Linked DNA regions of Homo sapiens: all the other regions are linked to region 1. The links are contacts of gene promoters, found by promoter capture Hi-C in blood cells and fetal thymus (Javierre and others, 2016). All regions are on one chromosome and are shown on one strand. Each heading gives the region's core, a stretch centred on a gene start or on the middle of the fragment in contact. The rest is flanking DNA. Distances are from core to core; before and after follow the strand shown. Region 1 holds the start of GSG1 (germ cell associated 1). Region 2 has its middle 23 kb from the start of DDX47. Region 3 overlaps APOLD1 (apolipoprotein L domain containing 1).

Evidence for each region. Contacts are between HindIII fragments. The CHiCAGO score rates a contact against its expected background, and 5 or more counts as called.
Region 2: a contact is called between a fragment that was not itself captured here and the fragment with the promoter of GSG1 in region 1, in 1 of 17 cell types (naive CD4 T cells). The highest score is 5.5, in naive CD4 T cells.
Region 3: a contact is called between a fragment that was not itself captured here and the fragment with the promoter of GSG1 in region 1, in 4 of 17 cell types (naive CD4 T cells, naive CD8 T cells, total B cells and 1 more). The highest score is 7.3, in naive CD4 T cells.

What each region holds. Positions count from the first base shown.
Region 1 is chr12:13,101,407-13,105,326 of GRCh38, forward strand. GSG1 (germ cell associated 1) reads right to left here and starts at 2,261. Exons shown (of 7, transcript NM_001080555.4): 1 at 2,059-2,261. The coding sequence starts at 2,106. LOC105369666 (a long non-coding RNA gene) reads left to right here and starts at 24. Exons shown (of 2, transcript XR_931369.3): 1 at 24-334; 2 at 581-1,040. RefSeq lists a silencer at 150-199. The HindIII fragment of the contact is 5,406 bases long and covers 1,319-3,920 here.
Region 2 is chr12:12,833,753-12,838,027 of GRCh38, forward strand. No RefSeq gene overlaps it. Among named protein-coding and RNA genes, the nearest start is that of DDX47, 23 kb to the left of the region's middle. RefSeq lists an enhancer at 1,135-2,334. The HindIII fragment of the contact is 4,823 bases long and covers 1-4,018 here.
Region 3 is chr12:12,791,354-12,795,580 of GRCh38, forward strand. APOLD1 (apolipoprotein L domain containing 1) reads left to right here. Exons shown (of 2, transcript NM_030817.3): 2 at 1-113. Among named protein-coding and RNA genes, the nearest start is that of APOLD1, 7.8 kb to the left of the region's middle. The HindIII fragment of the contact is 8,759 bases long and covers 1-4,227 here.

The sequences.
Region 1 (3,920 bases), core at 1,011-3,510:
CCGGGTCGGGCGGGGGTACCCGGGCTGTTTCTTCCTCTGGGTCTTCCTCCGTCGGTTGAGAACGGTGTCCCGGGGGCCCTCCCAGAGAGCAGGGACTGCCAGGGCAGGCCAGGGACCCGGCGAGCCGCGGAGGGCGGGGCCACATGTGTCCCGGAGCTGGGCCGGGGCGCTAGGCCACCTGAGGCGCGTCCCCTCTGCCGCCTGGCGAGGCTGCGCGGGAGGGCGGAGAGACTGGGTAGTCGGAGGGATTCCTTACACCCAGGCCGGTGGGCCAGGGCTCGGGATGTGTCGAGCTGCTGGAGTCCAAAGTCAGGCATTTCCCTGCCTCTGCCCGGTAAAGCTATGGGTCCCAGGCTCCCGTTCTAAGGGAAGGGGATGTCTGCGTCTCATTGGGAAGACCCCAGGGCGGGACTTCACCACCCAGACCCCTCAGCAGATCCGAGTTCTATTTACGACCCAATGCACGACTGCACTGAGGATTTTGGCCAAGTTACTTAACCTCCCAGAGGGTTAAATTTACCCTCAGGGGTAAATGAGGGCAAAGAGTTGTCCTTCTTAGTTCTGTGAAAATCGAAAACAGGTAGAAGAAGAGTGCCTCTAAGCAGAAACGAAGGGGAAGTGCACCTGTGCTACCAGCAGACACCTTGCTAGACCCTTCAGACATCTTCCTTAATCCTCACAACCAGCCTGAAAGGGACGTGGCATCCCCATTCTACAAGTGAGGGTTCCGATTCGGAGGGTTTGACTTGCTCAAGGCCACAAAGCTAGTAAATGGTAAAGTCAACACTGGCAATCTTTGAGGACTGTTCGCCTGACTCATCACCAGGCTGCCACTCAGTAAAAGCCAAGGCACAGTCACCTTTAACAAAATGTACAGATTGCAGGCCAGATTTATGGGACCTCCTGCAGATTGAGGCAATGGATTAAGTGTACTTTATACTTCTCAGGTACATATTAGCAACCAGACGCTCCCATATTCCCTCTGTGTCTCTCCTGGAAAACCACTGATAAAGAACAATAATAAAATTTATTCTAAGCCATGACTGGCTTTTTCTGTCATGTTCACATCCACTTCTTTGTCATCTATTCACTTGGGGCTGCTTCTGAATTAGGGAAGCTGCCTGAACCCACACTCCGATGGCTCTTCAGAACCACCAGCTCAGCTCTGCAGTCCCAGAAGTGCCTCTTAAGTTATCCTGTTCTTTCCTTTGAGATCCTAACTTCCAGCTGGTCAACAACATACCACATTGCTCCCTGTGTTGGAGTGTATGTACGTGTGTGTGTGTTTGTGTATGTGCTAGTTTGCTGGCTAATTGCAAGCTTCATTTTTCTCTCCTGAGAAAGGCAAGATATCTGAGAATGAACACCATTTGTTTTTTTAAGTAATCCTTAGAGCTGAAAGTTGGGAGGCTGGTCGTTTCTGAATGTAGGTCAAATGCTAAACAAGCCGCAACTTCTCTGCAGAGTGTGAGAGTCTTCCTGGTCTGGAAGGATCCCTGAAGATTCTGCTGGATTCTCTGAGACGAGAAAGAGCTTGACTGTGTGTTGTCCTTCCCAGTTCCAGATCAGAGCTGCCTTCCAGCAGGACCTTGGGGATGCCCCACTGTTCTCTGGCATAGAGCTTGATGTCTGCTCTTTCAGCTCACTGGGGTGACACACAGCTCTATTGTTGCCACCGCTACTGGGCCTTTACCAGGCTCCAGATTTTGGCAACGGGAATAATGCAGATGAAAGGAAAAAAGGAGAGGCATAGGGAGCCCTGGGAACAGAAAGGAGAAGGAAGATGATGAGACAAGGGAAGAAGAAATGGAAGTTTTAATGAAGGAAGATGAAAAGGTAATAGGCCAAGGTATGGACATACCAGTTTTATCTATGAAAACTGGGCTGAGTGACACATTTTCATTCCATTTTGTAGAACCCTATAGTGCATTTCCAAGCTCTTTACTGTGACCATGTGAAATACATGAAATTGATGAGTTAGTGTAACCTGTGTTACAAATCCAGCAGTAAAGATATGTGTATGAGATGTTCATGAGATTTCAAAATCACTGTACCTACCTCCTGGGTGAGGCAAACATTTTGAGTCAGTTGAGAGGGATCGCTCATTCACTCTTGCAGCGGGAAGGCAGAGAAGTTTCAGTTTATCTTCTGTTCTGTCTCAATCAGTTGGGTAGAATGAGTGTTTAGCGTGAGGATGAATCAGGTCCCCTCTTGCCAGCAGAGGGGTAAGGTGGTGTGTGGTGGATTGGAGAGGATGTCCTGAGGGCCAGACACCAGCCAGGGCGGGGTTGGGTGACCCGTGGGGTTTATTCTGTGATGTCACAACGGCAGTCAGGGGTCTCCCTGTTGCTCCCTCAGCCTCCTCCCATAAGGATTGGGGGGGGTCATGCTGGGTACCTACCAGTGGCTGGATGTCTTCTGAGGTCGTCCAGATCAGTGCTTATCTTATTGTGCATAAGATTCACCTGGGGAACTTAGTCAAGTGCAGATCCTGACTTAGTCAAGTGCAGAGTCTGGGATGGCTCTCACGTGAGTCCAGCCAGACCACACTGAGTTGTGAGACTCTAGACCAGTGCTGTCAAAGCAAAATGCAATGTGGGCAGCATATGTCATTTAAAATTTTCTGGTAGCCACATTAAAAAAAGTAAATTGGACACACATACTGTGATACAGCAATCATATGTTATACAATACTATGTTTAAAATGTAGCCCTCCCCACACAATAAAGTTGGGTTTAATGAAAAATATTTTATACTACTTTCATTTTAAAATTAAAATTTAGTGAATTCAAATTACATAAAATTAGAAATTCAGTTGCTCAGTTGCACTATCCATATCATAAGGGCTCCACAGCCACACATGGCAAGTAGCTACTGTATTGGATGGCACAACTCAAGGCCATTCCCTGAAAAGGTAACAATGTACAGAAATTACCATTCTAAAGGGCTAGTATCTGGAAACCCAGCAAACATTCACTAACATCATTTTAATGAATACATAATTAGTGTTTGGGGACTGTTAATATGGAGGCATAACTCTCGGAGACTGGAAGAGGGCCTCATCCAGGATTCCAGCTAACAGTCTGGATGGGGCCCTCTGCCCTGTGAAACCTGTCACACTCAGTCCTCCTCTGAGCTTTTGCCAGGGTTCCCCTCACTGGGATCCCTTCCTTCTCCTTGCTGCCCTGCCTAAATCTTACACAACCTCAGGGCACATGATTCCAGTCTCACTACCTTGTGGCTCTAGCCCTCCTTACTCCCCATTTCCTCTTTGCTCATACAGCATGCCTGCTTTGCTTTTGGTGTGTTAGTCTGTTTCTCTCGTGAAATTCTAAGCTGCTTGAGGACAGAATCTGGTTTTTTACTTCTATCGTGCTTAATATAGTGCCAAGGGCATAGTAGCTGCTCAAGAAATATTTATTATTTTATTTAATGACCTAAACTACCTAAGGAAGTATCTAAGAGAGAACATCGGATCTCGAAGTGCCAATAACTTCCCCAATGGAACAACATGCCTTATTTTTGGCACATCTTAAATTGATCAAGATGTCCGTTATAAGTTAATTTATAAATTTAATACAAATAACCATGAGTATTTTAAAAGACCAACACAAGTTGATATTAAAGTTTATATGGGAAAAAAATACACAAGACTAGCTAGGAAAACCCTGAAAAGGAAGAGCTCTGAGGTGGTGCTAGCCCTAATTGATATAAAGCATACTACAAAGCCTCTATGATTAAAACAACATGGCACATGTATACATATGTAACAAACCCGCACGTTGTGCACATGTACGCTAGAACTTAAAGTATATTAAAAAAAACAAAAAAACCAAAAAAAAACAATGTGGTACTGGTGCATGACTAGACAAACAGGCCAATGGAAGAGAACAGAAAGTCTAGAGATAAACACAGCTATG
Region 2 (4,275 bases), core at 357-2,856, 270 kb before region 1:
TGAATCCTGGAGGCGGTTTCCCCCATACTGTTCTCATGGTAGTGAATTAGTCTCACAAGATCTGATGGTTTTATAAGGGGTTTCCCCTTTTGCTTGGCTCTCATTCTCTCTTCCCTGCCACCGTGTAAGACGTGCCTTTCACCTTACACCATGATTGTGAGGCCTCCCCAGCCACGTGGAACTGTGAATCCATTAAACCTCTTTTTCTTTGTAAATTACCCAGTCTCAGGTATGTCTTTATCAGCAGCATGAAAACAGATTAATACATGGGTAGACATGACTTTTCGTGGGATACTATTCAGCCCAGTACAAGGCATCTTTGTGGACTCTGCTACATTCTGCGGGGTTTAAGGTTGCAATTACGGAATAAAATGGTGGGGAGAACTAGTTACAAAGTGTGGAGAAGACAGGAGATGGGTCTTCAGAAGTATTTGGTTAGGTATTAATAGGAGTATAGAAGAACGTTAAAATGTCATTCTCTTAAATACATGTAAATTGCCTTTGCAGTCAAGATACCAAAAGCTCTAGATTAGGAGTGGGGAACGAGGTCCCTGACCCCTCTGCTATTCCCTTCTTGGTACAACTCCTTAGTTCTGCATTCCTGATTTAAGAAACTGTGAGCTTCGCCGGCCGGGCGCGGTGGCTCACGCCTCTAATCCCAGCACTTTGGGAGGCCGAGGCGGGCGGATCACAAGGTCAGGAGATTGAGACCATCCTGGCTAACACGGTGAAACCCTGTCTCTACTAAAAATACAAAAAAATTAGCCAGGCGTGTTGGCGGGCGCCTGTAGTCCCAGCTGCTGGGGAGGCTGAGGCAGGAGAATGGCGTGAACCCGGAAGGCAGAGCTTGCGGTAAGCCGAGATCGCACCACTGCACTCCAGCGTGGGCGACAGAGCGAGACTCCATCTCAAAAAAAAAAAAAAAGAAACTGTGAGCTTCAAAACAATCTTCTCCCACCCTAATTGTAAACAGATACATCTAACTTTTATGACTTAATAAAGGGAGTATCTTGGAATAGTCATATGATATCAGCCCAGAGAAAATGTCTTCTTATTTCTCATCTGAATTATAAAACTGATTTATATAGTATTCATTGTATGCAGTTGCAGTAACAATGGCTTCATGGTACTGGCTAGCCTAGTTTTACTTCCTCTGTACAGAGCTGAGTGAGGGTGAGAATGAGGAAAACACCTCTCTATCTTATGAAGGGGTCCTAGGATCCTAGTGAGAGGGTTTCAGTTGGATAGGCTATTTCAGGCTTAAAGCAGGCCCAGAATTCCAGGGAACCATGAAGCAGGTTCTCTGAGGGCACTCTGAGGGGATTGTAGTTGCTAAGAGGGGCCTAGACCAACTAGATCATGATTATTCTTTCTCAGTCTCTCAAAAAATGCAATGAATATCCCAGAACTTGGCTGGCTCTTTAAGGACATCTTGCTTACAGACAGAGTGTTTTCCAAGTAGCTTTCTGCCTGCAGAGGCATCCACAAACCTAAATTGGAGACTTTATCTACCTTGGGTCCCTCAAAACCCTGGGAAATAGGACCAGAAAGAACCACAGGCTGTGGTGTTGGTTACAGAAAATGAAAGGATCCAAGTTATCAAAAGTGGGTAACAAAGCAACATCAAGAAACTGTGTCCTTAAAACTAAGAGAATATACAAGACATTCTAATCCACATGGTTCTTAGGGTGAAATCTAGCCTCTGGGCAGGTAAGAAATCAGGGTGTGAGTCACCCCTCTTTAGCTGGAATGACAAGAGACTCAGACCATAACTCTAGAGATTGAAGGGTTACCCACACCCGCATTCCTTTTCATGCCTCACCTATCCCAGGTATGCACTAAAACTACCGCTAAAAATAACTGCAGAAACTTGAAGTCTGGGAAATAGCACTGAACAGTCTCACCTGAAGTGAAGAGCTGATTGGTGCCAAGTGGAAAGGAGACAGGAAGAAAATGGGCTCCTCTGGAACCATGCAGTCTCTAGGAGGTGGGCCCCAAGGTCTGCTCAGAGTCTTGGAGCTTTTGTTTGCTCGTAGCCATCCATCCCCTTATACCATCCAAACACAAAGGATGTCTCCTGTCACTGTCACCCTTCAATCATCTGCCAGTGCCGTCAAAGAGGCCGGAAGGAGCAGGAGGAATTGGGAAAGGAACAGGTGGGGAAAGTGTAAGTCATCGGACTGTTCACTGTTGCTGTGTGACCTTGTGGGAGTTACTAAACCTCTCTGAACCTTGAGTTTTCTCATTTGTTAATATGGAAAGAAGACCGTCAAGCCTATCTCTGTCACAGAATCTTTTTTTTTTTTTTTTTTGAGATGGAGTCTCTGTCACCCAGGCTGAAGTGCAATGGTGCAATCTTGGCTCACTGCAACCTCCACCTCCCAGATTCAAGCAATTCTCCCACCTCAGCCTCCCAAGTAGCTGGAATTACAGGCATGTGCCACCATGCCGGGCTAATTTTTGTATTTTTAATAGAGGCAGGGTGCCATGTTTGTCAGGCTGGTCTCGAACTCCCGACCTCAGGTGATCCATCTGCCTCGGCCTCCCAAAGTTCTAGGATTACAGGTGTGAGCCACCACACCTGGCCTGCCTCACAGAATCTCGAACCTAGTTTTTAAAATTCTGTTTCTTTCCTCCTTCCCTTCCAGTGTCCACCATATCCTAGCCAGTGTGCCAGATACTAGGAAACCAATACTGAAAAAAGAGTCAGATGCTATTTTTGCTGAACTTAGCCTTAGTATTGTATAGTGATTGTGCTTCCTACTAGGCAGGGACCGCGCCTAATTTGTGGATATTACTAATATCATACAGGGCCCATACGCAGTAAATGTTCAATATCTGTCATTTTCTGAAACCTAAGATGTGTCAGGCGGCTTGACCTGTATTATTTCTAGTTCTTTGAACAATCCCGAACAGTCGATATTATTGTTCCCAATATGAGCTATGGAGCCAGTTTGCCAAATCGGCCCCTGACTAACTGTGAGACTTTGGACAAGTTGTTAAACCTTCCTGTGTTTCAACCTTCTTATCTGAAGACACACAGTTATAGTACAGCATTGTGAAGTTAAATGAACTATACTGTGGCTCATGATAACAATCAGTAAGTGTTAGTCATTATAATGATCATTAATTGTGGCTTTTAGCATAGATGAAGACTGGCAGCGTACCCAGATCATACAGCTGGTAAAGGGCTAAGTAAAAATTTGAAGCCAAATTGGATTCCAAGCCTCTGCCCTTTACACTAAATACACTGTTTGTTATGTGTGTGTGTGTGTGTATGTATATATGTGTAATTCCATATTACTCATGCAGTATGTTCCACACAACAAGTAAGTACTATGCAAATGAACTTTCAGGTTCCAAGCTATTTTCAAATTGGCAACAGGCAGGTAAGAAAATAAGACATTCTTGTTTTCACCAGTAGATGGCAGAAGGAAGAAAAGACCACTCCGGAGAGGGAAGGAGTTTTAATTTGGAGCCGAGTGATTCACAGTGGGCTGTGGCTGAGGCACAGGGGCAGATGAGGCAGACTCCTTGTATGACTACAGTGGAGGACAGTCCCACTGGAACTAGGGGTCAGGGGTCAGGGTGGGGAGGAGAACTACCTACAGGTATGTGAAGGGTGTCAGCCTTCAAGAAGATCTGCTAGGTTGACCCAGAGGATGGGGACTGGGAGCCCCGAAGTAAAGGCAAGTTCAGATGCACTTAGAAAAAAAGGTCGCGTTCCTCTGTCGTCTCTACTGCGCGGTCCCTGGCTGTGGACCCTCCTCGTCAACTTCCAAACACTTGGTTCTTTTCCAAAGCCTGCCTTTCCCTCTGGGATGTTGATGAAGCCACTTGCTTTGTTTGCTCCTTTCCCCACCCCCTACCCCAGTCTGTAAGTCAGGAATACTCTTTCCCCCGCCTATCCCAATACACGTTGTTTGTGAGCCACCGACCCCCCTCACTGCTTCCCTCTCTCCTCACTGCGTATCCATCCAGTAGGCTTGGTCCACAGCCCGTGCTCCTGTATCAAATAAGCTTGGTGCTGGGTAACCTGTGAGCTGCTTGTTCGTTCATTTTATCCTAGAGACATGTCCTTCAGCCCAAAGTGATGGGGAGTTGTCCTTCTGGGTCCAAAAGAGTAGTAGCAGCAATCAAGCATGGTGGTCATTTATACTGGGCCAGCTCTCACTGATGTGATGCTGGCTCTTGTCCTCACACATTCTTTTGGGGGAGGAGTCCACTGGTAACTCCTGATATCTTAGAAACTCTCTTACCCAAGCTATTAAATCC
Region 3 (4,227 bases), core at 1,179-3,678, 310 kb before region 1:
GTGCAGAGATAAATGGGGATACAGTTAAATGTAGCAACTCTTGAGTTCATTTTTTCCCACTGTAGCAAAATTAATGCTTTCTCTTTATTGAAATAAATTGCTCATTCCTCAAATTTTTTTATCTTTCTGTAATTAATTTCCTAGTTCTATGTTTCCTTGTGTATGAATTAGTAACTTTGAAAAAGGGCAGATGTTTAATCATTTTCACTTAGAATATTCAGATCAAACTATATGAATCATTTTTTTTTAATAATCAATGCATACACAGGAATTCCCTTTTGCCTAGAAATCAGACTTCCAGCAGTCTCAAAACCTTTGAACATAATTACAACCTGGGAAGGAATTGAAAGGAAACCTAGAATCAGCCAAATTAGCCTTCACAACATCCAAACACTAAAGAGAGGTGGGCAGGGAGGGTGAAGGGCAGCATGTATATCAGGAAAGAAAACTTTCCCGTAAATCTCTGAGGGACTTCACCTTGCAAGCCACCGATCTTGACCATGCAAGGCAGGCTGGGAAATGTAGTATTTTTAGCTGAGAACAACGCTGCCCCTAATATACCTAAGATTCTCTTGGTAAGAAAGAAAAGGAGGGTGATCATTAAGTAGGGGGTCCAGCAATTTAAACAAAAAGCCTATTGTGGTTGCGGCAGCCAGTTGGGGACGACTACTCTGGAGACGACCTCACTATCTCAGTGCCAGCTGCACCTTGGAAACATTCCTGGGTCTGGAGGCTGCACTGTTAATAACTGTACAACCAAAAAAGGCTGTGTTGGCAGGCCCCTGACTGTTTGCAGAGGCCAGCCGCAAGCTGGGATCCTATCTTTGCTGAAGCATATGGTATTCCTGTAGTAACAAGTGTCCTTTTAGTTAATTGCAATAAATCTCTTGTTGAGTTGACAGGAGGTTGGGATGTTACTTTTTGCTCCTGGCAAACTCATAAGAGGGAAAGTAAACCCTGCTGTGGTCTGGAATAGGACAAAGAGTGAGCCCTTAGATCTGAAAACAATCTCTTAGCAACCAGAGAGCTGTTAGGAGAGGGGAAATCGTGCTGATGAAGCGAGACCCATCGTCCAGGAATGCACATTAGGGGTCCTCAGCACCCCCAAACCTGACTAGCATTAGCACCGGGTTGTGGAGAGAAGGCCCTCTAATGTGGTCTTTGCCTGCACGCATAGAGATTATCTATATGAAGCTACATCTGCAGAAAATGATGTTTAATCCAATTTTGTATTTACACTAAAACCCCAGAGGTGGGAGGACAGGCAGGCCTGTGACCTGATTCCCCCTGAGCTTTAGCCATGGGTCACGGCCAAGGCATCTGCCTCCCTTACACACAGGAGCAGCCAGATCCTGGCCTCCTCCAGCATTTGTGTGAATACGGTTGCCAAATTCACCAAAATAATTATAACTGGGAGAAGCTACACAAAAAGGGTAGGGGTGATGTCTAAAGTCTTTCTTTTAGGCGAAACTTCTTTTTCTACGCTCCCCGGTTGATAAGCAGACATTTCTTTCTGCCCTCACTTTTTATTAAAACTGCACTCTCAAAATATCATTTAAAAACAATATTTTTTTCAGTGCTTAAATAAAATGACATTTCAATAATATTGAACATACATGTGGGATATTTAACAATAACAATAGCTAACATTTATTGAGAACTCACTAGATACTCTTCTAAGTACGATTTGACCTGTATCATTTCATTTACCTTACAAAAATCTTATGGTGTGCACACTATAATTACCCTATATTATTAGATAAAGTAAGGAATTTGAGAGGTTGCATTGCCAGCATGAGGTGCCCCAGAATTTGAATTCTGGCAGCCTGACTCCAGAGTTATGCTCTTAGCTATTCTTTTCCTTTTTTTTTTTTGGAGTCTTGCTCTGTCACCCAGGCTGGAGTCCAGTGGCATGATCTCAGCTCACTGCAACCTCCGCTTCCTGGGTTCAAGCGATTCTCCTGCTTCAGCCTCCTGAGTAGCTGGGATTACAGGCGCCCACCACCATGCCCAGCTAATTTTTGTGTGTGTGTGTATTTTTAGTAGAGATGGGGTTTCACCATGTTGGCCAGGCTAGTCTTGAACTCCTGACCTCAAGTGATCCACACACCTTGGCCTCCCAAAGTGCTGGGATTACAGGCATGAGCCGCTGTGCCCATCCAATGCTCTTGGCTTTTCTGATTTTTTTTTTTTAGACGGAGTTTTGCTCTTTTCGCCCAGGCTGGAGTACAGTGGCATGACCTCAGCTCACTGCAACCTGTGCCTCTCGGGTTCAGGCGATTCTCCCACCTCAGCATCCTGAGTAGCTGGGATTACAGGCGCCCACCACCATGCCTGGCTAATTTTTGTATTTTTGGTAGAGACAGGGTTTTGCCATGTTGGCCAGGGTGGTTTTGAACTCCTGGCCTCAGGTGATCTGCCCATCTCAGCCTCCCAAAGTTCTGGGATTACAGGTGTGAGCCACTGCGCCTAGCCAATCCTAGCACCTTGGGAGGCCGAGGCAGGTGGGTTGCTTGAGTCCAGGAGTTAGAGACCAGCCTGAGCAACATGGTGAGACCTCATCTGTACAAATAATTTTTAAATGAGCTGAGTGTGGTGTTGCACACCTATAGTCCCAGCTTCTCAGGAGGTTGAGGTGGGAGGATCACTTAAGCCCAGGAGGTCGAGGTTGCAGTGAACCGTGATTGGGCCACTGCACTCCAGCCAGCCTGGGGAACAGAGCAAGAACCTGTCTCAAAAAAAATAAAAACATCTCCTGGCAGTAACAGTCTCATCTAGGATGAGTAATCTTATGCCAGTAGGCTAGTCAATAAGAAAAAAATAAAATATAGCTTTGCAAGTCACTAGTATTTATAATAAACAGTGTGGGTGTGATTTGAAAGTTATAAAACTTTTGCTCTGATCATAAAAACCTATGTATGGGTTTTTATGGTGGCTGGGCACAGTGGCTCACACCTGTAATCCCAGCACTTTGGGAGGCTGAGGTGGGAGGATCAACTGAGGTCAGGAGTTCAAGACTAGCCTGGCCAACATGGTGAAACCCCGTCTCTACTAAAAATACAAAAATTAGCTGGGCATGGTGGCAGGCACCTGTAATCTCAGCTACTCGGGAGACTGAGGCAGGAGAATCGCTTGAACTCAGAAGACAGAGGTTGCAGTGAGCTGAGATCACGCCACTGCACTCCAGCCTAGGCGACAGAGCAAAACTCTGTCTCAAACAAAACAAAACAAAGCCTATTTACAGAATAATATTTTGTGATGCTCCCCCAAATCTCCCAAACATGGCAAAATTCTGGTGAACAAAACACCTGAAGAGGAAGGACATGATTTATAAGAACTTTTTGCTAACTGTAGATGCGCTGGAACTGAAGTTATCAGTAGAGATGACACAGACATGAATGAAGGAATTACTGGTCGAACAGGCCTATCTAGATCTGATTTTAAAACCTCAAAAAATGAAACTTCTTGGGGTCATTCCATTGAAACTACTACTGACCCTGCTTGTCAAATTTCTTCCTGTTGGGGTGTGTACTCAATTGCAGTCTAGTAGCTTATGGACTAAAAGTGTTGGAGGTATGTGGGTGAGTAGATAGGTATGAATAGGAATAAGATGTTGGGTATCATAAACTATTCAAAATCATAATGCTTTGTGGTTGATTTGAATTTAACATTGTCCCCTGAGGTTTTGCATAGCAAACACAGTTATTTAATTTTAATTCTTTCTAACTTCTCTGTAGCATTTGACTTTGCTGAATACCCAATTCTTTTTCTTTTCTTTTTTTTTTTTTTTTTGAGACGGAGTCTCGCTCTGTCACCAGACTGGAGTGCAGTGGTGCGATCTCGGCTCACTGCAACCCCCACTTCCCGGGTTCAAGTGATTCTCCTGCCTCAGCCTCCCAAGTAGCCGGGACTACAGGCTCGTGCCACCACGCCCGGCTAATTTTGTATTTTTGGTAGAGACGGGGTTTCACCGTGTTGTTCAGGATGGTCTCGATCTCTTGACCTTGTGATCCACCTGCCCCGGCCTCCCAAAGTGCTGGGATTACAGGCGTGAGCCACTGCGCCTAGCCAAATACCCAATTCTTAAAGCACCCTTTTTCTTGAATTCTGTGACACCAGCCTTTCTTATTTAGTTTCCTTGACAGCTTTTTTTTCTCCTCCAGTCTTAAGGTTCAAGTTTCCCTGAGCCTCAGACCCAGGCTGCCATTCCCCTGACCTTGTCACACA